Regions from separate parts of the Homo sapiens genome. Here region 2 is linked to region 1. The links are contacts of gene promoters, found by promoter capture Hi-C in human tissues and cell types (Jung and others, 2019). All regions are on one chromosome and are shown on one strand. Each heading gives the region's core, a stretch centred on a gene start or on the middle of the fragment in contact. The rest is flanking DNA. Distances are from core to core; before and after follow the strand shown.

Region 1 (7,367 bases), core at 3,437-5,936:
AAGTATTTGAAGTGATGGATATTTTAATTAGTTTTATTTGATCATCCCACAAAGTAAATATGTATTAAAACACCCCATTGTACCTCAAGATATATACAATTATTTTTAATCAATTAAAAATAAAATGGGACGTGAAAAAAATCTTAGACTAAGTTCATCTAGCTTTGTCTGAAATACCCTAAAAATCCAAACCAGTGCCTCTCTCATCCTGCAACGTTGTCTCAGCATGTCTGCTCATTTTGTCTGACTCTGGAATAGAATTCTAAGAAACATTCTGGCACGATTCAGCTTGGCTTCCACTCCTTTGCACGAGTTTGTCAGAAATCAGAAATACTTAACGTTGCACTTTCGGTCATCCAGCCTAGGATAATTTAATCCCGGATATTATTGGTTACCCTTGTAAAGAAACCAAAAATATAGCTCAATCATCACGTGAGCCTTTGAGATCCAGGTAAAGTTTGACTGAAATCCCAATTCTAGACTTGGGGCAGTCTGAGCTTTTCCAACAAGACCCACCCCTCACTTTCTCAGCTTTTCAAGACTGTACTCCTGAGTCCACAGGCATTTCTCAATCACTTCTCTCTTCAGAACCAGATTCAGAGTCCCTTCCCTATGCAACTGAAAAGTACTCATATTTGTGTTAGTCATGCTCTTTCCCATAAGTTTCTGGAGTTGAGCAGAAGAATCACATGACATAAGGTACATTTCTATTTCTTGCTGGCAAACCTTTCTCTGGCCTCTCTACTCAGTACCCAGTGCTCCCTCTGTGATGTCCTCCCTCCACCTAGTGCAGCTGGGTAAAGTGTGGTCCTGTTCCTTGCTCTGGTTGCTTCACTTCCTGGGAATAACCAGACACATTTATCTGCTTTCCGCTACATAAGTTAGAATGCTGGTGAATAAATTTCTCTTTACATTATTTTAAATTTATATTTTTATGGAACACATGATTTATGTATGAACATAGAAACACACTTACTGCCTTATCTGCATATTATAATCTATGTTTTTATTGGATCTTGGTGATCATTTTTATCATTCCTTATGTTTTACTTGTGGAACTGAGGTATACAGAAATAAGTTTATTCAATTAATTATACTGCTGTGTGAGGGGAAAATATTATCAAATAAAGCACTTTTTCTTTCTCCCTCTCAGTGTTATCCCACCTGCTCAGTACCACATGCTAGTTGTAAGTGGTTTAATCTATCAGTGTATATTCTGCTCACATAACAGGATTTCAGAGCTACTTCGGCCCAGTACTAATAAGCATTACACAAAATCAGGCCCTGTGTTAGTTTCTTTGCAATTTCCGCTGTTTTCCCCTCAGGGTCACGAAATGTCTACAACTCCTAGCACCATGCACAATACAGAATAACACCAAACACAAGATGAAGAGGAAAGAATCTCTCCTCATGAATCTCTCTGTTCTTATCAGAGAGAAACGTTTGTCACAGGAGGTCTCAGCAGGCTTCTCCTCTATTCCCAGTGACCAGAATTGATTCGTGTGCCCAAACTGAACAGGCAAAGAAAACACTAAACTAAGAGTCTGGCATTTAAAGCCTCTCCAGAAAGAGATAGGTTCTGCCTATAAGGGAAAAATGTAGCAAACTTGCTTGCAGGGAGGCAAACATCCACATGGCTTTAAGCCATCATATGATTATACCACATTTGATCTATTACTTAACTGATGGTCATGTACATAGTTTTCAGTCTTTTGGTATTACAACAATTCTGAAATAAATAGACTAGTAAATTTCTGCTTGTTTATATATGTGTAAGGATTTCTCTATAATATACAATATATACCTAGAAGTAGAATGCCTGCAGAATAAGGTCTGTACATTTTCTATTAAATATGACCAAACTGTTTTCCAATGTAACTATCTTAATTCATATTCCTTCCAGTGGTTCATAAAGACTCTGATTTTTTCATATCTTCTCTTAGAGTTGATATTCAAATTTTATTTTGTTTTTGCAATGAGAAAAATGAAAAATAACTACTCAGTATTATTTGTATTTTTCTTATTGCTAGAGAGGTTAAGCATCCTTTTATGAACTAATTGGTATTATTGTCTACCCTTTGGCGAATTGCCTGCTCTTTTATTTTCCTGTTTTTAAAGTTTTTTAATGAAACACACAAACACATACACATCAAAAAAGAGTACCATCTAGAAACACCCTTAATTTATTATATATGTGTATATATGTGTGTATTATACATTTTTATATATAAAAATGTATATGTGTATATAAATATAAAATGTTTGCTTGATAATAGCAAGCATTTATATATTATATATAACATATGTATATATATTATATATACATATATTAATATATATACATATGTTATATATAACATATGTGTATATATATAATGTTTGCTTGATAATAGCAAAGTCTAGAATTGGGCAAGTTATTCCTATCAAATTTGCAAATAAGATACAACAGTCTGCCTCCCTCAGGGGGAAGTAAATAAAGTATTAGAGGAAACTAGGAGTATGCTCAGGAATGAGAAAAAGACAAAATCTCTAACAGTGAAGATAGTAGATGCTTATAAACATAAATTGGCATTCTTTTTCCCTGTGGGACATTAGGAAAAAAACTGGTGGGCCTTCCCTCATGTCTACCTGAGAAGGGGGAAAGAGAATTGGAGAGATGACAGAGTAGAGAGGCATGGGCCTCCTGCCATTTATCATTTTTACTGAAAAGAATGCCAGAGTTTGCCATAGATCAAATGTACACTGCAGAAGGTAGCTGAGCTTCAGTCACCTTGCCAGCACCTGACCAATGAGGACTAGTTAAGGGACAACAATCCCCTGTCTGATAAGGGAAAGGGTGTGAGCTAAAGGAGAGTGGAAGAAGGCAAACCAGAATTGGGATCACTGCAATGAGGAGACCCCAGAGGTGGCCCTGAAGGTTCACATGCACACATGATGAAAGAGCCAGACTCTCAACTCCTAACCCCAGGGAACATCAATCACCAGTCTATGGACACTCTGTATGTCTCACCTTCAAACTTTCCCAAAAAGAGTATCTGGGTTATTTAATCAGCCACTATCACATAGAAAACACTCCAGTGGAGTAGAGTAGTGCCAGGCCATCTCTCATGCAGCAGGCCAGTCTATGAGGGGCTGCTTTGGACAGAAACTCATTCCTGGTCATACTATTGTGGCTGGAATCCAGTCATGAGGGGTGTAGTATGGTGGCCACACTTTCACAACCCCTCAGACAGAGATTGAGAGCATCACAGTCCTTCCAAGTTTACTCAGAATGGGGCAGTGTATATAGCTGGCAACATGCTTAGTGTATTCAGGACATAAATTAGAGGTTAATGCTATTATTGCATGTTTCACATACCAACATTTCATATCTCATCTTTCTCCCTTCTTATGTCTGGATACATCTCAACCAATTCACCTTTTAATAATATATATTGTTTTGTCATCTCAGTTTTTTATTTCCTGTTTCTTGCATTTTATTGAGAATGCAAAGCAGATGCTTTCTTACACTTAATTCTGTTTTCTGGTGTAATTTTTCAAGCTATTGCTTACCTTTGCTTCATGAGTTCAGTAGTTTCTTGTTTTGTGTTCAAGAATTCTAAGATTCATGTTTGCTTGCTTCTGTGTTGTCTTCCTTGAATGACTAAAAAGTCCATACAGACTCCGAGTTTATCATACATAAGGTCAATGACTTTCACTTTGTCTCTGTCACCAACTAGCAATTAGAATAACCTCTCATTTCTGAAGCCACTTATTACATATTTGGTGTCTATTTGGAAGAGTTGTCCTGAACTGAAGGAAAACGTATTCCTTTTATAGCCTGCTTGTATAGCTATGAAATGATGCCTGCACATTTAGAAGTAATACGCTTTACTAGTGGTAAGAGGGTCCTCTTTCAATTCTTCCTGAGCAATGGGAGCAGTGACAAAAAGAACCTAGCCATGTAAGAGAAAAAAAAAAACACACAGTGATGTTAATGGGACAAGAACAATTCCTGAAAATATATAAGGCATATGCTCAAAGCATCGGAATTGGCAGAAGAACAATAGCTAAGAGAGGCTGTGTGCAGTGTTTTCTCTGCAGTTTGATTTCTCTAAGTGGGGGAATTCAATGGGCAGTTATGAGAGTGGCCTGCATTGGATGGAAATACTTGAAGGTCTGGGGTTCAGCAATTTTGTGGAATTTCGGAGGAAAGACTTTTCATTATCATTTTTATTTACCCTCACACTTTGGTTGTAGCATCCACCACTAGCTGCCATGAGAACTGGGAAGATAGGGCTTCTGAGGTTCGCTTTGGTACTGCACTCAACAGAGCAGAAACATCATGCAGGACGTGAATGAACAGGGAAGGATTCATCTTTCTTGTTGCTCAAATTTTAGGTTAAAAGAGTGAAGATGTCATTTAAAGAAGATAAGGAAATAAGCTAAGTGCACCTCAGAAAAAGAGGAAATAAACAACATGGTTATGAAATACATATGCCTTTTTGGAATAATCAAATCACCTCAGGAGCAGGAATCCACATTTAAACATTTCCCTACATTCAGATGTGATAGCAAACCAGCAAGCAAAGCATAAACAAATTCTATAGATAGGAAAATGACAAAATCAAAAATGAGCTTGGGAAAATTTGCTTCCAGAGAGAGGGGTTTTCTTGTACCAGACAGTGGTGGAATCAGGAACCCATTCTCTACCTGGAAATTGGTACAGAGATTCAGAGTCTTTGTCCAGGAAGACACTTTGGAGTAGAAGAATGATACCCATCCAACTCACTGTCTTCTTCATGATCATCTATGTGCTTGAGTCCTTGACAATTATTGTGCAGAGCAGCCTAATTGTTGCAGTGCTGGGCAGAGAATGGCTGCAAGTCAGAAGGCTGATGCCTGTGGACATGATTCTCATCAGCCTGGGCATCTCTCGCTTCTGTCTACAGTGGGCATCAATGCTGAACAATTTTTGCTCCTATTTTAATTTGAATTATGTACTTTGCAACTTAACAATCACCTGGGAATTTTTTAATATCCTTACATTCTGGTTAAACAGCTTGCTTACCGTGTTCTACTGCATCAAGGTCTCTTCTTTCACCCATCACATCTTTCTCTGGCTGAGGTGGAGAATTTTGAGGTTGTTTCCCTGGATATTACTGGGTTCTCTGATGATTACTTGTGTAACAATCATCCCTTCAGCTATTGGGAATTACATTCAAATTCAGTTACTCACCATGGAGCATCTACCAAGAAACAGCACTGTAACTGACAAACTTGAAAATTTTCATCAGTATCAGTTCCAGGCTCATACAGTTGCATTGGTTATTCCTTTCATCCTGTTCCTGGCCTCCACCATCTTTCTCATGGCATCACTGACCAAGCAGATACAACATCATAGCACTGGTCACTGCAATCCAAGCATGAAAGCGCGCTTCACTGCCCTGAGGTCCCTTGCCGTCTTATTTATTGTGTTTACCTCTTACTTTCTAACCATACTCATCACCATTATAGGTACTCTATTTGATAAGAGATGTTGGTTATGGGTCTGGGAAGCTTTTGTCTATGCTTTCATCTTAATGCATTCCACTTCACTGATGCTGAGCAGCCCTACGTTGAAAAGGATTCTAAAGGGAAAGTGCTAGGCCTAGAGGTTGCCTGAGGCACAGGATAAAAGACTCCCGAGCAATTGATATAATTAATACCAGAAGAGAGTATTGCTCTTATCAATCAATTCATTGTGAATCACCATAATGCAACCCTCATTCCCTTCCATCTTCGCAGCCATGTATTTGTAAATAATCAACCCTTTCTCTATCCTTTTCCACTGGTTTCCTTTCCCTTTCACAATCCTCAGGTTGGTTCCAACTTGCTCAAGACTGCCCCATCTCTCCTTAGTCCTTGCCAACTCTGGAATTGTACACCTGGTATATTCTACACAAGACAGTCAAAATCATGGTGTCCACACATTACTTTAACCTTCCCATGACTGCCAGTTACTTCACACATGAATATGAATACCATCCCACAGAAACATATTGCTTGTACCCTGAATGATTCCCATACTAAGCCTTCAATTCACTTTTTTAGTCAAGGAGTCTCTCTCTCTCTCTCTCTCCCTCACTCTCTCTCTCCCCCTCTCCATCTCTCTCTCTTTCTCTATCCCCTGGCTGTTTCTGGACTTTTATCTGATGACACAAATGTTCTTATTTGCTTCTCTTCCAAATGCCATGTCTTTATCTCTTTAAAACTCAAGTCAAAATTTAACTCTTTCTTCATTTCCATTAGCCAAAACATTATACTCTTCCCCAGAATAGCAGACACTTTACCCAATCCAGATTCATCCTTAATAATTCCCCAAATATTGACAATTTAATTGTGTCAACTATACAACTATAAATGGTTTCCATTGGCTCAATTCTTGCCTCTCTATTGTATTATAACTTGTATTGTATTATTAACTTGATGGAACATCTCCATGTTGAGACATAGTTGTTTTATTTCCCATATACAACCCAGATATCAGTTAAGAACCACTCTTAGCTCATAACATTTGAGTGGCGTTGGCTTACACTTTCTACACTTTTTTATTCTGTCCAAAGCCCTCCCAAAATGAATAAGAATATAGAAATCACACAGTAATCAGTGAAAAATCACGTATAAAACATACTCATTCTTTAGACGTTCTTTCTGCCTCCCTGTCTGACACGTTTCTCTCATACCTTCTTCCCTTGCAGGACCCCATGCCCTTATCTCCAAGGCATCTCACTCCTCATTTATCTCCTCTTCACCCTCAACTACCAGCAGCTATGTGTCTTGGTAATGTCCAACCACTATGCCTTTGGGTCTCAGCCTCTGTCCACCCCAGATACTTATTAAGGTATTCTTCTTAAAGCCAGTTGCATCTCTTACACCATTCTGGTACCAAGCGTAAATAATGTGATGTTTTCTACCCTTTGTATATATTGGGCATGTCTGGTGAACTGATCTTCTAGCTCTGCCGTTAGAAGATTGAAACACCTCCTGAAAGCAAATCATCCTATGGGGCAAAGGATGCAAGTATCTCAAGCTTGACTGTGAAAGAATGGCTTAGTCCTGGAAAGGAATGGAAATTCTGATCTGCTTGTGGGCTTATCACTCTGATTTGTCTCTGAGTCAAATTCATATTTGAAACTGAAGGTGTGAAACATAAGTAAAAACTGAAAGACCACTTTTACCAAAGACTCTGTGCCATTTGGCATATCTCAGCAGCATTCCTACTGTTGCACACAGAGGGGAGTGAAGCATGCTGTCCCACTCCACAGAAGCACCCTGTCAGCCTTGCATCTCCCTAGGTCCAATGGTTTCACTGCAGTAGAAGGTGGGACAAAACCTGGTGGATGCAG
Region 2 (6,985 bases), core at 4,442-6,941, 450 kb after region 1:
ATAATCACTTGTCAATTTGGCAGTTTTGTTAAAAATAATTACTTTGTTTCAGTCATTATAATATCTATAGTTTTGAAAACATGTCAGGAAAAAGTCCTTCTTTGGTATTGATCTACAGCAGAAAATGTGCTGTTTTCCATCTCTAATTGAGTTGATTTCCTTTTATACTATTTTACAATGATAATATTAAAACATGAGGCATATTTGTGCTGTTTCAAATAATTGACTTTGGTTTTTAAGCATGTTATCCATAATGTCAAAGAATATCTTTCTGAACGGCTTTGCCCTGAGGAGTTTAGAATTTTCTTGAAATTATGGGTGTCTCTTGAGTATTTTTCAACGTCAATTCAACTGTGGCTTGTTGTGCTATTAATTCGTTATGAAGTGACACAGGAAGAAAACTCATTATGTGATAATGTGAAAACACATATTTGTCAAAAAAATAAATTGAGTCTGTATTGAAAATCCATCAGCTATTGTAGTAGGGAGTCAAATTGTTTATTGGATACATTTGGGTGTTGACATCATTTTTTCAAACAGGAAAACATAGAAAATATTTTAGTTCCAACCCATAGACACTCCGTATCATGCGTTTAAATGTGGGTTTTTTTTTCCATACAGGTGATATTATACCCAACTTCTAATAGCTCCAAATCAGCTGAATTACACCGAATGGTAGTTCCAAAAAATAGCCAGGATTCTGACTTAAAAATCAAACTGGCAGTGCGAATGGATAAACCAGCACATATGAAGCATAGTGGGTGAGTATAAATTTGAGGATTTTTTTCCTGAATTATTGAATTTCATTTCAGTGTATTATTTTTGTCAGTTTAGTGAGAGAACCAGTATAGCAGGCTTTCACATGGAGTTTTCTCAAAAAGTGACATACGTAAGTTATCTTACTCAATGTTTTTATACCCATAGACGGCTTTATAGCTCAATACATGAGTCCTTAGTTAAGATAACTGTATGCGAGCTACCACGATATTGGAACTTGATTGTGTTAGTATTACTCATCAGTCATATTGATACAGGGCACCAGGGCACTGATACCTTCTAAGAAACATTCTTCAAATTACAATAATAGTTGAAACAAGCTTAGCATTGAGGTTCCTAGAAATAGTTAAACTTCCATAGACTGTATAAAAACTAAAACATAGTGTAGATGTAACCCAACGAGGCTATATACATTTTAACAAGAGGGATATGAGTGTTGATCCAAACATGTGAGTGAGAATTGAATCAATATTGGAGAAAACTGCTACTGTTGCCTGGGGAAGAAATGCAGGGACTGTCTCCTGGGGATCACCAGGGGTCAGAGTCAGCCTTCATCTCTGCCAAGGTTCTTTGTCTGTTGCAGCTGGTGATGAAACAGGTCTGAACTCTTGAATAAAATGAATTGCCAAAAATCCAGGACTTCCTCAGAATAACACTTTGGACTTACTATGGCCAAATCCCAGCATAGGGGTATTAGCCATTAGGAAAGAAAAGGGGCCATTTTTCTTACTATGGAGAAAAGCAGTTGTTGAAGTGGCTTACCCTGAGTTAGTAGCAACAGACATAGAGGTCTAAGAAAGTGCATCCTTGTAACAAGCAGAGTCTGCTGGCATTAGGGCCCAATCACTAACATCAGGGTGGAGCGAACTGATGATTCAAAAAATGAGGAGGATTCTTTAGATGACCATTAGGGGAAACAAAGTTAGGCTCTGGGCAGGGGGAAACCCAAGGTATACATTACAGTTGGGATGGTGCTAAGGACTGTATTGCTTTTTGGTTTAGTAGGCAGCATGTGCAGTGTCAGAACAGACCTCACCAAAGGGAAAAAGTACATGAGAGGGTGGGCTCTTAGAAATGGAACCATGATTTGGATAAACAACATTATGCATCTTTAATGTAGTAATGTAAAGTCAAGTCTAACTATGACTCAGATTATAATGCACATGGAGTATCTGGGATTTAATATTTAATTCATGCATCCATCTACCTGCTCACCAGTAATTTATGCAGCAGGCATGTATTGAGCACTACTGTCTTCCAACTAGGACAAACTTTAATGTGATATTATTGCAGGCCTATAGGAACTGGCTAGTCAGGAATTCAGACTTGTATGCAAATAATTATGATAGTGATAAGTGCTGTAAGACAGAAATGGGAACCTGGGAGAAATAATACCTGATTTTTGCCAGGTATAGTGAATGAAAGTCTCACAGGACACCTGACTTTTGAGATAAAACTTGAAGGATAAATTTATCAGGTAGACAGTGGGAGAACTGGCATTCCAGCTACATGACAGCATGTACAAAGGCAGGGAGTCCTGGAAGGAGTTTTAGCTGATGATGACAAGTTCAGTGAAACTGTCATAGAGTGCTTTGAGACTAGAGAGAGTGCTAGTGCTCTAAAGTGCTTAGAGACTAGTAGAGTTACACATAAAAGAACACAGTATGTTCCAGGAACTGCAGTTGTTTCTCTACCCTTTTTCACTCAGTCCCTTTTTCTTTTGATGAATGGCACAATAATAAAAAAAAAAAAAAAAAACAGGAACCTATCATAGTGCCGAGATGACCCTAATTTACCCATGGCCAGTACTATGCCATGGTGAATACTCCTGGACCTTCAGCTTGTCTCAAGAACAAAGACTGAACATGCATAGGGCAGGTCCTGTAACCTTTAGCTCCAGTGGGAAGAAACCCTTGCTCTTACCTGGCAGTTCCTTGGTTTAGCATACTCCAGGATAGGTGAGACAATCCAGACCCCTTACAAGGCTTGATTTGGGGGTAGGGTATGTTTTTATCACATCTCTTTGACTAAATCAGTACCCCTAGAAAGGCCTGCAATTGCCTTCTGCCCAAGACTAAAGGTGAAGGAAAAGACTAAAGAGGATATATCATCGTCTCTTAATTTAATCCATAAAGCTCAGGAACTCACTGAAGGACACGGACCAGAAATGCCTCATAGCCCAATTATCTAACATTGCTAAGAGATACAGGCATTTCCAGATATTTAAATATCTCTTCAGTTTCTGATGTATACATTGAAGCAATGTTAGAACTGAAAATTATCTGTGATGATGTTATGCTAAGATAGTGTGTTATGTAGCAGAATTAAGAATATCATATTCCAAAATAGTGGTTCAATTAAAATATTTTAATACTAATATTAGAAGAATTAAACATTTTCAGCAATGCTATAATAGTAATTGCTCCCTATGGACAGGGACAGTTAGAGGTGCTTTAACCTAAGCATCTGTTCTGTTTTCTCAGTACCCATGTGGTAACAGTTTTAAACATTTTGAATAATACACCTGTGTGTAAACATGTATTGGCAAACATTTCACCTACAGCATAGCTATATTCGTCTTTTTCTGAGGTACTTCATCAATGGATTTTACTGCACTTAATTACATTTAAGAAGAGAAAGTAAGTTAATCTTTTTCTTCCAAGTATTCCATCATACACCAAAGCAATAACATAACAGGAATAGTAGATTAATAGCATTTCGCTTTGGGCCTGGATCGTGTTTTGTCAATCATTTCTCCTATAATCAATAATTAACAGATGGATAATAATTTTGAGAGACAAGTCAAGTTTTAAAAATATTAATTTATCTTTAAAATATAGCAAACTCCTGTTACAGATAGAGTTGTTAGGTGGATTAAAAATAAATTGGAGGATAATGGATTTTTATCTTCAGAGCACTTTAGACTTTGAAATCTTTAGGACTTCAGTAGTAAAAACCTATTCTCTGTTTTAATAATGTGGACGTCAAATAGATCTTTCTTGCGTGAACTATTGTAACATGTATTCTCTGTTTTATTCATTTATCACTTATCTATGGCCCCTAAAAAATATTTTTATCAATGTTATTTATATTTTTCTGTGTGTTCTCAACTGTACTCTAAGTTTCTTAGACCTATTTGAATTCTCAATGCCTCCCACAGTGTATAATCAGAGATAGATATTAATGTGAATAATGATGGTGAAAATGTAATATTGTGCTCCCTAGAGTATTAAGGGAAAAGTAATACAAATGAGAGTAAGCTTTATTCACAAATGGAACCTTAAAAGATTCTAAACACAGTTTATTGAGAATAGAACATAATTTTAATGTAAAAAAATGCCTAAAATAAATGAAATAAATGGTGTTTAGTTCTCAATGTTGCATTTTAATATGACTATTTTTTTAAACCAGAAGGTAAAATGCATCCAATCTAAAGCTCATGTTTCTGATAACTAATCAGTCCACGACTATATATTATAGTTTATTTAAGTAGGACTAACTACATGTAAATGAAAATAGATATTTAATTTGGATCAAATAAGCATAACTATGATTCCATCCTTTTAAAACCAAACTGGGCATTACCACAAGACGTATATTTAGCAAAAACTTGAGTTTATTTATTCTTTTGGAATATGTCATCTAAACTAATTATAGAAACTAACCCTTAGATAAATCTATTGAACAAATTACCAGCTATGTTTTGAATGGTTAAATGATTCACATCCAGCTTTTGAATTTATTTTCCTGGTTTGTGTGTGTGTGTGTGTCTGTAGCATGAAGATAGAAGTGTTCTTGAACAAATGGGCTATACCTTAGCATAGCCTAGTGGCTAAGTAACAGTATTAACTTAAAACTCAAATAACTATTCCTGTTTTTATTAAATAAAATTATTTTCCTAATTCAAAGGTTACTTTCTCAACCAAAAAAAGTAAAATAAAATGGAACTAATAAATGACTGTTATGACAATTAAATCTATAACTGAAAAAGAGAAAATTGGCTTTCACAAATATGTGGAAGCATTATGACCATGATCTATGAGAAGTCTGCATGCAACTGATTACTTTTATAGTAAAAATAGAGTTTCGTAACTATATAACTATAATAGAAGACTTTTATCATAGTTTCTAATTGGTAAGATAAAATTTTAGCAAAACTACTCTGAGATGAATCTCATATTTCTCTTTGTGTAGAGTCATGCTTGGCTATTTACACATTTTGTTGAATGAACGGATGGATTAAAATATTTTGACATTGTCACAGATAAAACTCTGTAGTTTAATTTCCATCATAAAGATAGAAAAGGCATTGGGCTCATCTCTTGTTGCAAGGAGAGACAATAGTTAAACTTCCAGCAGAAAAACGAGACAAGCCCCACACCGGCTGCTTTGTGGCCCCACCATTTCCCAGAGAGAGGGCCAGCTGGGCATCCAGAGGTTGGGACAGCATGCCTACATAAACTGCATTCACACACTAAATATTCAGACATTGTATTTCCTCATAAAGTGAAATGACTGCACTCTAGTAAAGTTTCATTGTTTAGATTATTATTCAGGGTTTATGATCTCCAACTAATTTAGGGGAGGAAAATCTTAGCTGCGTCGAGGTAGTATTTGCTCAAAGAGTCCAGGCTTTAAACAAAGCCAAGTCTGTTCTTTCACAAAGCAAATTGATATTTCATTTTTAAATGTACCTTTTAGAATGACTTTCCCCTGTGTCCTTGTCTAAAATAACTATGTTTCGACATCTGACCTTGACTTGAACCTATGTATGTATGTATGTGTAGGTCTACTTGCATTCCCAGGTTGAACTTGGCCCAGCCTGGCTTATCCTGATTTCACCGAAATCCTACTTGAGTCCCTTGAACTATAATAATAATAATAATATTAATTAATACTAATCTTTTTTTTTTAAGACAGAGTCTCACTCTGTCGCCCAGGCTGAATTGCAGTGGCACCATCTCCGCTCACTGCAACCTCCACCTCCTAGGCTTAAGCAGTCCTCCCACTTCAGTCTCCCAAGTAGCTGAGACTACAGGCATGCACCACCACACCTGGCTAAATTTTGTATTAATTAGGCTAATTATACAATCACACGAATGTCTTGAGTGCGATGGTAACTACAAAATAAAAGTCATGTAGACGGTAAGTATTGAGTCAGCTGTTTAGGTTTATCAATCCTTGATTTTTTTGTATTAATTAGTGCAGTGGTAACTACAAAATAAATGTCATGTAGACAGTAAGTATTGAGTTAGCTGTTTAGGTTTATCAATCCCCAATTTTTTTGTATTAGAGACAGGGTAGAGACAGGGTTTCGCTATGTTGCCCAGGCTGGACTCAAACTACTGCACTCAAGCGATCCTCCTGCCTCAGCCTCCCACAGTGCTGGAAATACAGACGTGAGCCACTGTGCTCGGCCTTATGATATTCTTCAAGTTTTAACCACATCATTTGACTTTATTCAAAAGAAAATGCTTGAAGACAAATGAGAAAAATAGAAATGTACAAATCATCATTAATTCATTGAGAGTATAACAGTTATATCCCTATTAGGTCCTTTGCTTAATTGTTAGACTTTAATTTACATTTTTATTTGACAGCTATTATGGATGTAGATATGGTAGTTCGTTGCTCTTTGTGTGTTTATTTTTCTGCTAACTTTATTTTGTCTTCTCTCTATGTCCAAGGGAGAAAAATGAAAATATTACATAAGGGCTTTGAACCATGTCTGAGCAACTGACTTGAGTGATTTATCTAAGAAATAAGCTCAGGTTCTAAAAATAAAGAGCATCTGGAGATTATTTCATGGCAAGTGAGAGGAATAAGAAAGCACTTTCACTTTATTTCAGTCTAATGCTGTCTAACACTTTTTAAATAACTGGTGGTGCTCATTGTATGTTTTACTACAATTTGCTAGTTTAACTTGTAATTTTCTTGCTTAAATCATTAAATAAGTATGATTTGATCCATATAGCTCTACCAGTCTATCAAATCTTGCTAGTTGTGATATTAAAATTTGTCAAGTTTTATGATACATTGTTGATCTCATTAGATTTACATACCAGGTGAGTTAGTTTTAATTTCATCTCAGGTTGTTTTTGTTTATTTTTAGTTATAGTTTTATGTGTGATTCATTTTTATTTTAATTTAAAAAAATTTTTTAGACAGGGTCTTATCCTGTCTCCCAGGCTGTAGTGCAGTGGTGTGA

What was found. Contacts are between HindIII fragments. The study calls those that stand out against the background at their distance.
Region 2: a fragment that was not itself captured here is called in contact with the fragment with the promoter of TAS2R16 in region 1 in 1 of the 25 tissues and cell types used here (aorta).

Annotation. Positions count from the first base shown.
Region 1 is chr7:122,993,019-123,000,385 of GRCh38, reverse strand. TAS2R16 (taste 2 receptor member 16) reads left to right here and starts at 4,686. Exons shown (of 1, transcript NM_016945.3): 1 at 4,686-5,682. The coding sequence starts at 4,752. The coding sequence ends at 5,627. The HindIII fragment of the contact is 11,039 bases long and covers 1-6,295 here.
Region 2 is chr7:122,548,326-122,555,310 of GRCh38, reverse strand. It overlaps CADPS2 (calcium dependent secretion activator 2), which reads left to right. Exons shown (of 30, transcript NM_017954.11): 8 at 622-761. All of the region lies in intron 3 of LOC105375481 (a long non-coding RNA gene), which reads right to left. Among named protein-coding and RNA genes, the nearest start is that of RNF133, 150 kb to the left of the region's middle. The HindIII fragment of the contact is 6,247 bases long and covers 2,568-6,985 here.